Regions from separate parts of the Homo sapiens genome. Here region 1 is linked to region 2. Evidence: promoter capture Hi-C in 16 types of primary human blood cells and fetal thymus (Javierre and others, 2016). All regions are on one chromosome and are shown on one strand. Each heading gives the region's core, a stretch centred on a gene start or on the middle of the fragment in contact. The rest is flanking DNA. Distances are from core to core; before and after follow the strand shown. Region 1 overlaps YY1 (YY1 transcription factor). Region 2 holds the start of SLC25A47 (solute carrier family 25 member 47).

What was found. The method cuts DNA at HindIII sites, captures the fragments that hold promoters and counts their contacts. A CHiCAGO score of 5 or more calls a contact.
Region 1: a contact is called between a fragment that was not itself captured here and the fragment with the promoter of SLC25A47 in region 2, in 1 of 17 cell types (monocytes). The highest score is 5.9, in monocytes.

What each region holds. Positions count from the first base shown.
Region 1 is chr14:100,280,698-100,286,424 of GRCh38, reverse strand. YY1 (YY1 transcription factor) reads right to left here. Exons shown (of 5, transcript NM_003403.5): 5 at 3,637-5,727. It also overlaps a transcript of SLC25A29 not described here. Among named protein-coding and RNA genes, the nearest start is that of MIR6764, 6.2 kb to the right of the region's middle. RefSeq lists silencers at 347-1,106, 1,137-1,246. The HindIII fragment of the contact is 687 bases long and covers 2,956-3,642 here.
Region 2 is chr14:100,320,735-100,326,608 of GRCh38, reverse strand. SLC25A47 (solute carrier family 25 member 47) reads right to left here and starts at 3,270. Exons shown (of 6, transcript NM_207117.4): 1 at 3,167-3,270; 2 at 778-821; 3 at 381-452. The coding sequence starts at 3,194. The HindIII fragment of the contact is 12,472 bases long and covers 1-4,732 here.

The sequences.
Region 1 (5,727 bases), core at 2,050-4,549, 40 kb after region 2:
GTCCCACAAAGTTTGGGTGAATGAGTAAGTTCAAATCTGGCTTGAATATCCTTGGGGATGGTGAGGACACAGGACAAAGAGCAGACACAGGGGAACATGGTGGGCTCTGTTTGGTGTTGTGACAGTACTGGCCGGTTTCTTGTTTATCTCCCCAACCTCTACCTTAGCTCCATGAGGGCCAGGGGTGCAAAGTCAGCATGCTGAATGAATGAGTGAATGAATGGGTGAGAGCAGAGGCTGCTGAGTACAGGGCCAGGTTGGGTTTTGCCAGGCAATACAGAGACGGGCCAGGGAAGACGGAATGTACACTGTGAGGCCAGAACACGCTTGGGGGCAGAGGGTGAAGCGGTGATGGGCTGGAGAGGGGCTGGGGCGGCCGGAGTGGCTCCAGAACCTACAGGCAGGGTGATGGTAGGAGCCCCCGCCACGCCCGTGGTGGAGCTCTCCGTGGGGAGAGGAAAAGCATCCCCAGCTTGGAGGGCTCCAGGACGTCCCTTTGGGCCGGCACCCCAAGGCCCTGTCTCCCCGCTTCCCGGGCCCGCCCCCTAATCCCAGGACCGCAGCCTCTCCCACCCCGCCCTCCAGGGGGCGCTGCTCCACCGGGGGGAAGGGGGGGCGTCCCAGGGCCTTGCTTAGCTGGGGCCCCCTGGTATGTGGCCCCTCCCTCCTCGGGCGTCGCCGCCGCACCGCCCTGCCCCGTGTCCCTGTGGCCCTGGCGGCGGGAGTCTCCTCCGCCCGAGGCCTCGGGCAGGTGGGGTGCACGCAGCCTCCTTCCGCGTTTCTCGGGCTCTGAATCTCCGCGCCCCCGTGGCCCTGGGCTCACTCCGCGCGGGGGACGCTCGTAAGCGGCGGCGGCTCGCGGGGACCCCACACTCAGGGATTCTGGACAGCCCCCACCGCGCCTCGGGTCCCCGCGAGGTCCGGGCCGCTCCGCGCTGCGCACGCGCAGCCCCTCCCCACAGCGGACGCGGCCCAGCCCCGGGGCCCGCTGGCACAGTGCCCTCCTGCGGCCGGCGGCGGCGGCGCACCCTGCGGGTGGGGGCCCAGGCGCAGGTCTAGAAGCCCCCGGGGCCGCCCGCCAGAGCAGCGTGGGGGACAGGCCCTGGAGCACTGCAGGGTGGCAGGGAAGGGCTGGGACAAAGGCGCGGCCCAAGTCCCCAGAAGGGTCTGGGGGCGGGCAGGGCTGCCCGCGCTAAGTGCTGGCCAAAGGCCAGGCGGGCAGGGGCTAGGGCTGGCCACCAGCTCCCGGGATATTCCTAGGGTCCGGTACAGACGCACGTGGCAGGCCAAGAAGAAGCCATGCAAACACCTGAGGGGCGTGCTCAGACCCCGTCCTGCCTCCTTGCCTCCTCTCCCTCCCTAGCTACCCCGCCCCCCCCCGCTTTTTTAGACGGAGTCTCGCTCTGTCGCCAGGCTAGAGTGCAGTGGCGCGATCTTGGCTCACAGCAACCTCCACCTCCCAGGTCCAAGCGATTCTCCTGCCTCAGCCTCCCGAGTAGGTGGGATTAGAGGCATGCGCCACCACGCCCGGCTAATTTTGTATTTTTAGTAGGGAGGAGGTTTCTCCATTTTGGTCAGGCTCGTCTCAAACTCCCGACCTCAGGTGATCTGCCCGCCTCGGCCTCCAGAAGTGCTGGGATTACAGGCATGAGCCACCGCGTCCGGCCCCTAGCCCCTATTTATCACAGCCTTATCCTCCTTCCTCCAGATGTCATGCCAGTGCCAGTAGGGCAATGCCATTCCTGCCTAAAACAGGGCCTGGCACATAATTGCATTGATCGAATCAGGGCCCCTGGAGGTGGAGAGGTAAGCTTTGGAAACGAAAACTCCAAGAGGGAGGGGAGGGACAGGACAAGAGGTGATCCATTAGGAAAGGCTGAAAAATGAGATAAAGCCAGGACTGGGCTCTGAGGGTCGGCGGGACTGGATTTTTCGGTAGGAAGTAGGGAACCGCTGCAGTTCAAATCACGTGCTGAGACCCTGTTAGCAGAAAGGCCGTGTGGGGAGGTCAGCAAGGACCGAGGGGAACGGTCACAATGGCGGGCAGTCGGGGAGCCCTGAGGACCCTTCCAAGGCCAGGAGGCACCACTGCGCCAGAACAGAAAGGGCCGCACACCAGGGAGGCCGATGCACTGCTCCATAAACAAGGGCCAGGGCTTTTTTGAAAGGGGACTGGAGGAGAATTCAAGCTAAGGAGCCAGTGGCAAGCAGAGTACCTTGGAAGCCAGGCAGGCTTGGGCTTTGAATTCTGGCTGCCTGGACTTTGCAAATAAATCTGAGCCTGTTCCTCTCTTACAGCATGGTGATATTGCTAGCTAATTCATCAAAGGGTGGTTTGGAGGAGGCCACTGGGTACATATGTGTTCTCAACAAATGTTATGGGCTGCGCATGGTGGCTCACGGTAATCGTAGCTACTCGGGAGGCCAAGGCAGGAGGACCACTGGAGTCCAGGAATTCAAGGCAGCAGTGAGCTATGGTCGTGCCACTGCACTCCGGCCTAGGTGATAGCAAGACCCTGTCTCTTACCAAAAAATAAATAAATAAATAAAATAAAAAATTATAGCCAGGCAGAGACACCGGCAAGTATAAAGGAGAGATACTGGTTTCATCTGTATCTAGGGGTTTCTAAAGAAAGCAATTCCAGGCCAGGCACGGTGGTTCACGCCTGAAATCCCAGCACTTTGGGAGGCCGAGGCGGGTGGATTGTGAGGTCAGAAGTTTAACACCAGCCTGGCCAACATAGTGAAACCCCCATCTCTACTAAAAATACAAAATTAGCCGGGCATGGTGGCACACACAACCTCCTGCTATTCAGGAAGCTGAGGCAGGAGAACCGCTTGAACCCGGGAGGCAGAGGTTGCAGTGAGCTGAGATTGCGCGCCACTGCACTCCAGCCTGGGAGACACAGCAATACTCCATCTAAAAAAAAAAAAAAAAAAAGCAATTCCAAAGCTTTAGTTCCTTCCCATGTAAAATCTACAGGTTTTCCACCGTCTTGCTCAGCTCAGCCCTACTTAGGGCCTTCACTCAGCAGTTCTGGGCTTGCACAGGCCTGCGACTTGCCACCTCAGTAGCATTCTGTCAGCAGCCCCTTCTGTCACTAGCAAAAAGGGAAAGTCACATGTATTCAAGTAATAATGAACTTCACGCCTCACTCTGAACCTTGCTCTGCAGAACATCAGACACCAAGGCCCCAACCAGAGGGAGGAAGCTCTGCTCTGCATTTTGCTTTTGGCTAAATCCTAAGTAGCTCTCAGTGTATTTGGTCAAGTTCTTCCGAGTCCATCCCAGTTAGCTCCGGAGCTTCCAGGGCTGACATGGGCTCATAGGTCCGGCTGCGTGGGCATTTCACTGGGCTGTGCTTTCTGAACAGTGGGTGAGGCTCTCTTTAAAACGCCCTCTTGCTCCTGAGCCCACCTTGGAGCTGAAAGGTTACAGAAGCATTTCTTGCTGGTGTGAGACCAAATCCTGGGAGTTCCCAGTCCTGTGTGTGAGAAAGCAAGCCGCAAGAACTGCCCCGGGCAGTTTAGGCAACTCTTAGACCAGGAAGGGCTCATGGCCTGGTTTCATGTGCAGTGAAACACTAAAGAAGTGGCTTAGAGGACTGAGGAACAAACAAGAACCACAGGCATTAAAAAGCTTAACATTATGCATTTATTATATTGTATAGAGCCATATTACACATGCTTGGTGCTTCAAACTGAGTTATCAATGTTTTTCTGGATGCAAAGCCATCTGATGCTGGATGCGGATGCCTTAAATACTATATTTCTGCATCTATGACCTATGAGCTAAGGAAAAACCAAGGACAATTCCAGAAATGGCAAAGAACACTTAAGAAAAAGATGTACATGAGACGAAATGCTAAGTCCTTGAGCCAGGGCCTACAGAAGTTACCAGAAAGCGAATAAAAACATAATTTTTCTCACCACCTGTTGATAATAGAGCCTCACATGTCCGGGTATGGACAATGTAGAAAAAAGAGGTTGTTCCGTTTGGTACTGATGCCTTTCTCCCCTCCGTGATGTGTGCGGACATTGTGCGGCCCCCAGAGAGAGCAGCAGACAGAACAGAGCACAGCAAACTGCCCCCTCCTCAACACATCCCAGTGCTGTTTTTTTTTTTTACAGCATCTGGGTGTCTCATGAAAAGCGGTCAATTTGATCAAACTTGCCACCTTGTGGAAAATCAATCAGTGTGCTTCAGATGAATGTGACGCCATCACACGCACCCTCCTCTGACATCCAGAATGCTGGCGGGGGACATGGGGCTGGGTGCCTGCTCGGCCAGGACGAAGCTCTCCATGTGTCACCTCCCACCTTACGGCACCCAGTTTGTGGGAGGTTTGCTTTGCCTGCTGACCTGATGCTAACGCTCAGCTTAAACGCTCCATTCCAGATTTTACAAGGGGACTGGGTGATAACGTGTCAAGTACATGCTGCCCATACTTCCCATCAAGCCTCAGTACAGTCCCAGCTTAAAGATCCTCTCTGGCACCACACTGATCCCTTGGGCCTGGGGGTGGATGCCAGGAAGCCTCTTGGCCACAAATCTGCCCTCTTGTGGGTCAGAGGCCAGCCCTCTCTTGCCTGACGTGACTTGTCTGAAGGGCCTGCACTTAAACCATCTTCAGGCAACCAGGGCATCTGAGCATAACCTGAGCAGTAACAACATAAATCAAGGGTCAGTAATTTGGGGTGGATGAGACCTAGCCAGCCATCCAGTCAGATGCTGCCGTGCAGGTAAGCATGATTCTGAAGGCGTGGGGTACCTTTTGTCCTGTAAAGTCAGAGAGAAGGCTAAGAAGTGCATGGCCAGAACCCCAAGAAAGTGCAGCTTGGAGTTTTGGCTTCCTTCCCCACCGCTTGGGTTAAAAGTTCGGGTGGAATGCACTTGCCAGGACCTGCTGGGCCTGAACTCTGAAGTGCTGCGCTCACATTACTGTCAGTGTATCCAGGACAAAGGGCCCGGAGCCAGACAGGTGCCCCCTACAGCCGAGGGTCCAAGGCAACCCTGTGACTCAGAGCTGGCTTCAGCAAGCCAGCAGAGCAGCTGGGAGGAAGCCTCATGGCATGGCTGTGGCATCAAGTGGGTGTCTGTGAGCAGCTTGGCTCTCACCACTGTTTTGACCTCTGGGATCCTTACTCTTGCTGGGGGTCAGATGTCAAGAAAATAGAAGGATTATTAAAGAATAATTAAATAATTAAAGATCAACAACATGAATTTCCCAAGCCAGGCTGATTTCCAGGTCACAGAAGTCAGAGACCCTGGAAGTGATCAACTCTCTTTGCCTATAGTCGGGGGTGGGGGGAGGTGGGTAGAATTGTCAGGTTTCCTTTTTTTTTTTTTTTTTTTTTTTTTTGGGAGACGGAGTCTTGCTCTGTCACCCAGGCTGGAGTGCAGTGGTGCGATCTCGGCTCACTGCAAGCTCCGCCTCCCGGGTTCACGCCGTTCTCCTGCCTCAGCCTCCCGAAATTATCAGGCTTCCAATTCCAAAACTTCTTTTTAGGGGGCCAGGTTTTCCTGTGCCACAAACTCTGGTCTGAGACCAGTCTGGGACACGTCTCCACAGTAAGTTTTGCAAGGCAGAGTGCAAACGGACGTGGGGCAGTCCTCCAATGTACGCACTCTCAAAACACTGCTCAGGCGGGCTTCCCCCGACTGGAAGTGACTCTCATCTACTTGTGAAGACATGAACTTGAACTCTGCTTGGAAACACGGACAGG
Region 2 (5,874 bases), core at 2,021-4,520:
TAGGAGAATGTCGCCAAGTACTGCTCCGGACAGGTCTCTGAGCTAGACCCTAAAGACTCCACCCAACACTGCCTTCAAGGGGTGCCTGGCCTGGAGGAGACAGAAATGCAGTGCATGGGTCCCTCCTCCGACTTTCAAAGACCTGAACGCTACCTCTAGACCCTCTGCTGGAGGTGGGAACCTCCTTCTGAGGCCCCTCTAGCTGCCAGATGTCCTGGCTCCAGACCTCAGAGGAACCCATGAGATTGGCAGAACTATTCCCATGTGGAAGGTGAGAGAGCTGAGACCCAGCGGGGAGCCTGGCATCACCTGCTGGGCAGCGGAGGCAGGCCCAGCATCCCCTCCCTGTCTCCCTACCCAGCCCCTGGCCCCAGACCTACGCGCTCTCGGTGATACGTATCCCGGACGCAGTGCCAGATGCCTGTGTACTTTGGCTCCGTCTGGATCCTGACCTGCAGGAGAAGTGGGCTTCAGGCACGAGCGGCTCCAGGCCTAGGGCAAGGCCAGCAGGCCCTGGGGAAGGGGCAGAGTCACACTCTTGATTGTCCCAGCCATGCTGGACGGTGGCACAGCAGGGACAGGGAGCCTTGTGTTAGACGAGAAACCTGGGGCACAGGGGTGAGAAAGTGGGACTGACATAGTCCCAGGGGCTATGGGGAGCCATTGAAGGCATTTGGGTAGGAAAGGGGTGGGTCTGTTTAGCATTCTAGAAAAGTCTCCTGGCCGTGGACAGGTGCAGGGGCCTTAGGATGGTTGGGGGGCTGGCTATTGCCGCACCTTCACCGTGTCCAGGGGGTAGCCCACAGCAACACCGCAGACGCCTGCAAGGAAAGAAGAGGCCCACGGTGAGGAGAGTGGGGCCGGCGAGCAGTTCAACCCCATTGCAGGGAAGCAGAAGCAGAGCGCACGCTGACTGGGCTCCCCCAAGGGCAGACCCACATTTGGCCCTTCTGGTCTGCACCAGGTCTCATCAATCCTGAGGGCACCCCCGTTTTAGAGATGAGGAAATTGAGCCTCCGAGTGTCTTCTACCCTTTGCAAGCAAGTTCCCCTTCCCTGAGTCCTGGCCCGGGACTGCCTCGTCCTCGCTGCCTTGGGCCAAAGACATGCCGACATGCCCCGGCCTCCCCACGGGCGTCATGCTCTGAGAGAACGTTTGATCCTACCCTAGCTGGGCCCTGTCTCTGAGCCAGGCAGACCTTGCCCTCAAGCCGTCAGCCCATGGAGGGTTTGCCTGTGAGCCAGGCGGTAACTGTGTTTTGGCTGCGTGGGTGGAAGGAGGGGGAGGCACAGCCTGGGCAAAGGCCAGGAGGAGGGAAGCCGAAGCCCACACCGGGGTTCGTGAAGAGCCAGGACTGCCTGGAACCACAAGCGTGTGTGGAAGAGAGAGGGCCGGGAGTCCACACCTTGCAGAGAGGCCTCGGGTGCCAGGCCTCAACATCCAAGCCCCAGCACTGCCACAGGGAAGTCAGAGGGGAAACAGGGTGGTCCCTGGGAGGACCATTCTCTCCCCTGAGGGGAGGTGGTAAAGGCCAATGGAAGAAAATAGGCACATGGGGACTGTACCCTATTCACTGTAGCCCAGGACTCAGTAAATATGTGGGATGAAAGAATGAAGTGAATAAATGTAAGGCAAAAGACCAAGTGGCTTGGAGAGAACGACCCTTCTTAACCCTCCCATACACCTCACACACCTCACCAGGCTCCTACTCATCCATCAAAGCCCTGCCACGACACTACCTCCTCTCTGGAGCCCTCTCTGGCCTCTGTACTCTGGGCTGCCTCTGTGCCTGGAACATGTTGAGCAGAGCCCTTGTCATATGGCCTTGCTGTTGTATGCCACCGCCACCTCCAGAACTGGAGTTCTCCAAGGACACGGCCGAGGGCTGACACCCCATGACCCAGGGCCAGGCACAGAGTGAGAGCCCTTTACCTAGGCCTCCTCATGGCTCCGGAGGAAAGATGCCAGACTCAGGAGCCCTTTCCAGCTGTGTGATGTCAGGCAAGTCCAGTAGCTTCCCTGAGGAAGGGAGCGGCTGGCCCCAGGCTGGCACCTAGCTGGGGCTGAGAAAGGCTGCTAATGGAGGCCGGGCGCAGTGGCTCACGCCTGTAATCCCAGCACTTTGGGAGGCTGAGGCGTGCGGATCGCTTGAGGTCAGGAGTTTGAGACCAGCCTGACCAACATGGTAAAACCCTGCCTCTACTAAAAACCCAAAAATTAGCCAGACATTGTGGTGCATGTCTGTAATCCCAGCTACTTGGGCGGCTGAGGCAGGAGAATCACTTGAACCCAGGAGGCAGAGGTTGCAGTGAGCCAAGATCACGCCAGTGCATTTCAGCCTAGGCGACAGAACAAGACTCCATCTCAAGGGAAAAAAAAAAGAAAAAGCCTGTTAATGGGGCAGGTACTCTGCCTTCTCCCAGGGCCAGAGCTGGGCCGCTCTCCCAACCCCCATGCTGTTTCCAGAAGTACTGACGCCACCCACCGATGTTTCACAAGACCAGCAAGGGCAGGAGTGCCCACTCAGAACAGCCCCCACAGCCCACGGGATGGAGCTGAGCCCGTGTCCCAGGGCCTGGTTATCTCCCTGAATCAGTCTTTCACCAGGAGCCCTTCCCCAGGAGGGAGAACGGTTTCTCCAGCAGAGTCTGGCCTGAGAAGCAGGCTCTGGAGGCCTAGCCAGGTGCACACACCCAGCAGGGCAGGTGGAGCCACCTCGCCAGGCCCCTTACCGTCCTCTGCCCGCCCCTTCCAGTCCCTGCTGCAGGACCAGGCCCATCTTCCCTACCCATCTCCCCACCCTCTCGATCCTCTCCTGGGGTCTTCTTTCCCTTCCAGTGACTCAATCACCCCTCCCCACACCAAGGACTCCCAGCCTCCCTGACTCTGCCTCCCGAGCGGCCCCCATGCCTAGACCACAGCCCCATCCCCAGCCTGCCCTCAGCCTCCTGTCTGAGCCTCCCAGGCCAGTGCAGCCCCCCAGGCCCTGCAGCACCCCTCACCCAGCCTTAGCCTCCCAGGAACCTGCTCTCTGCTCCTGGCAGATCCTGGGGGGTGAGGGGCTCCTCAAAGCCCACCCTGCTGCCCAGCACCTTCCTGGACCTCAGTTCCTCCTGCTACCCCCAGGAGCAGCAGTGTCTGCACAGCCCACCATCCTGTCTGTTACCTCCGATGGCTCCAGCGACAAAATCCATGAACAAGGTGTGGCGGGGAGGCCCTGGGTCTGCCTGCCTGAGAGGGCTTTGGTGCCACCAGGGTGGCCTCAACAGCTCCCAGCTGGCCCCTCTCAGACCTTAAATACCTGCGGCAGGGGAGGGGACCGGAAGCAGAGCCTGCTGAGGCCACGCGGCACACAGCTGGACTCCCTCCCTGCCCCCGGGACCCTTGTCCCAGTGCCCTCGGGACCCAGGTGTCAGGAAAACACAGGAGAGAGCACGGGAGGTGACAGGCACCAGAGAGCAGGGGCACTGCCCCATCACATCCAAACACCTCCTGGGAAGGTCCAGAGATGGGGCTGTGACAGCTCTCGCCCTCCAGGTCCAAGCCCAGGCCTTCACTGTGTCCCCTGGGCTTTCCCGACTCCCCTGGATTTGCTCAGGACCCCTGCCTGGGAAACCTGCAAAGCTCCCTCTCTTACTCACTCAAAAAACACTTACTTTGCTGATGCTACACCCAGGCAAATGAGAGCCAGTCCCTGTCCTCAAGGAGCTCCAGTTGGCAGGGAGGGAGGGGGTGGCAAGGACAGGCCTGAACCCAGGAACAGCACCCACCATCTGCTCTCACCCTTCCCGCTGCCCCGGTTCCCTGCTCTCTGCTCCATGGGAATGTGTCTCCCTGGACCCAGAGGCGAAGGCCAAGGCTGCCTCCACCAAGTCCCCCTGCCCACATGAACCAGGGACAGAGGCTGCCGATTCAGCCTCTGAACCAGCGGCTGGGGCCCTCCTGAAGGGGAAACCTCTCCACTAAGACGCTACTTCTGTCTGCTGGGCACTGTAAAAACAGGGACCTCCTTGCCCGTGCACCCCACCTTACAGTTCACCAAGCTCCCCTCACTCTCAGGCTCTAGGATCCTCCTCACCGCCCCAGGAGGGAGACAGCGCAGCGTTAGTGCTCCCCATTTCACAGATGGGGCCATTGAGGCCCAGAAAGGGGGCTTGTCCAAGGCCACGAGGGCGGCAGGGCTGGATGTGATCCCCAGATGCTCTCATACAACCCACCCTCTGGGATATCCAGGCCCGCCTGGGGAGGCCCCAGAGGGCTCTCAAGGGGACTCAGTGCATGCCCCATGTGACCTGCACTGCATCCTTGTGAGATCTCCACGTGAGACACCAAGGCTCAGGGAGGCTGTGCAGGTACCTCGGCCACACAGCTGCTGAGCAACAGAATCTAAGTGAGTGCCCCACAGACTGGAATGCCAGCAGGATAGGGGAGGGGCAGGTGTTGATGCATGAGGCCCAGGCAGCCCATCTGGGCAGCCCTCGGGACAGGTGGCAAGGCCAGGAGGCTCTTTGTCTACCTGTTTTCCTGTCCTCTAATGGCTGGACCTGCAGGCTGGCCTTGAGCAGGCTGAGAGCTGATGGAGGGACAGCCCCCCTGCCAGCCCGGCTATTTATAGGCAAGTGGGAGACACAGGATGAGCAGTGCCAGCTGCCACGGCAGAGGGCAAAGGGCGGGAAGTGGCCCATCCAAGGCCAGTCCCAATGCTAGTCCTGGCCCTCAAGGGGATGAAGCTTAGCATCTGGTTAGAAGCTGGCTGCCTGCCTTTAAAGCCCAGCTCTGCCACTCACAGCTGAGACCGTGGGCCAGCCCCTTGACCACTCTGTGCCTCAGCTTCTGCATCCATGAAATGAAGAGAGTACCTGCCTCATATCTGCGACCACGCAGGGCAAAGTCCGGGCGTGTCCCTGTGAGAGTGGCCAGCTAAATGCTAATGCTGCATTAACAGAAGCATAGAGTCTGGAAGGAAGGAGGTGGCTGGCCTGTTCTGGGCAGGGCAAATACAGCTGAGACTTGGGTTTGATTGCTGATGCTGCACTCAAGAAGCCAGTACCTTGGGTGCTGAGGGAGTTTGAAGCACTGTGTCTAACTGAAAGAACAGGGACCATTCAGATCCATGTTTCCTGTAGAGCATCCAATGCAGCAAGTGCCACCCACCCATAGCACCTGAGCCAGAAGCCCAGGAATTGCCCTGGACACCTCTCTCTCTCCACCCCACATCCAGAGTCCCCAGTCCTGTGTGTCAACCTCTTAAATTCACGTTCAGCTCCCTTCACCACTGTCCATCTGCACGGCCTCAGCCGCGTCATCATCCCGTGGACCGCAGCCCGCCCCGCCCATGCCCTCTACTCATGAAACCAAGGCTGCCTGTCGAGTTTTAGGCACGGGGACACATCAGTAAACACAACGGATAAAAGCCCTTGCCCTGGGCTGGGCACGGTGGCTCACGCCCATAATCCTGGCACTTTGGGAGGCTGAGACGGGCAGATCACAAGGTCAGGAGTTCAAGACCAGCCTGGCCAACATGGTGAAACCCCGTCTCTACTAAAAATACAAAAATTAGCCAGGCGTGGTGGTGGACACCTGTAGTCTCAGCTACTTGGGAGGCTGAGGCAGGAGAATTGCTTGAACCCGGGAGGCTGAGGTTGCAGTGAGCCGAGATTGGGCCACTGCACTCCAGCCTGGGAGACAGAGTGAGACTCTGTGTCCCAAAAAAAAAAAGCCCTTGCCCTGGTGGACCATAATTATGTTCAGGGAGGAGGACAGCCAGCCAACAGATGAATAGCCAAAATACAGAGTACCCGCAATGGCGGCAAGTGCCAGGAGAGAAATAAGGTGTCGGGGAGAGGGAGACTTGCAGGAGGTGTTAGGGAGGCC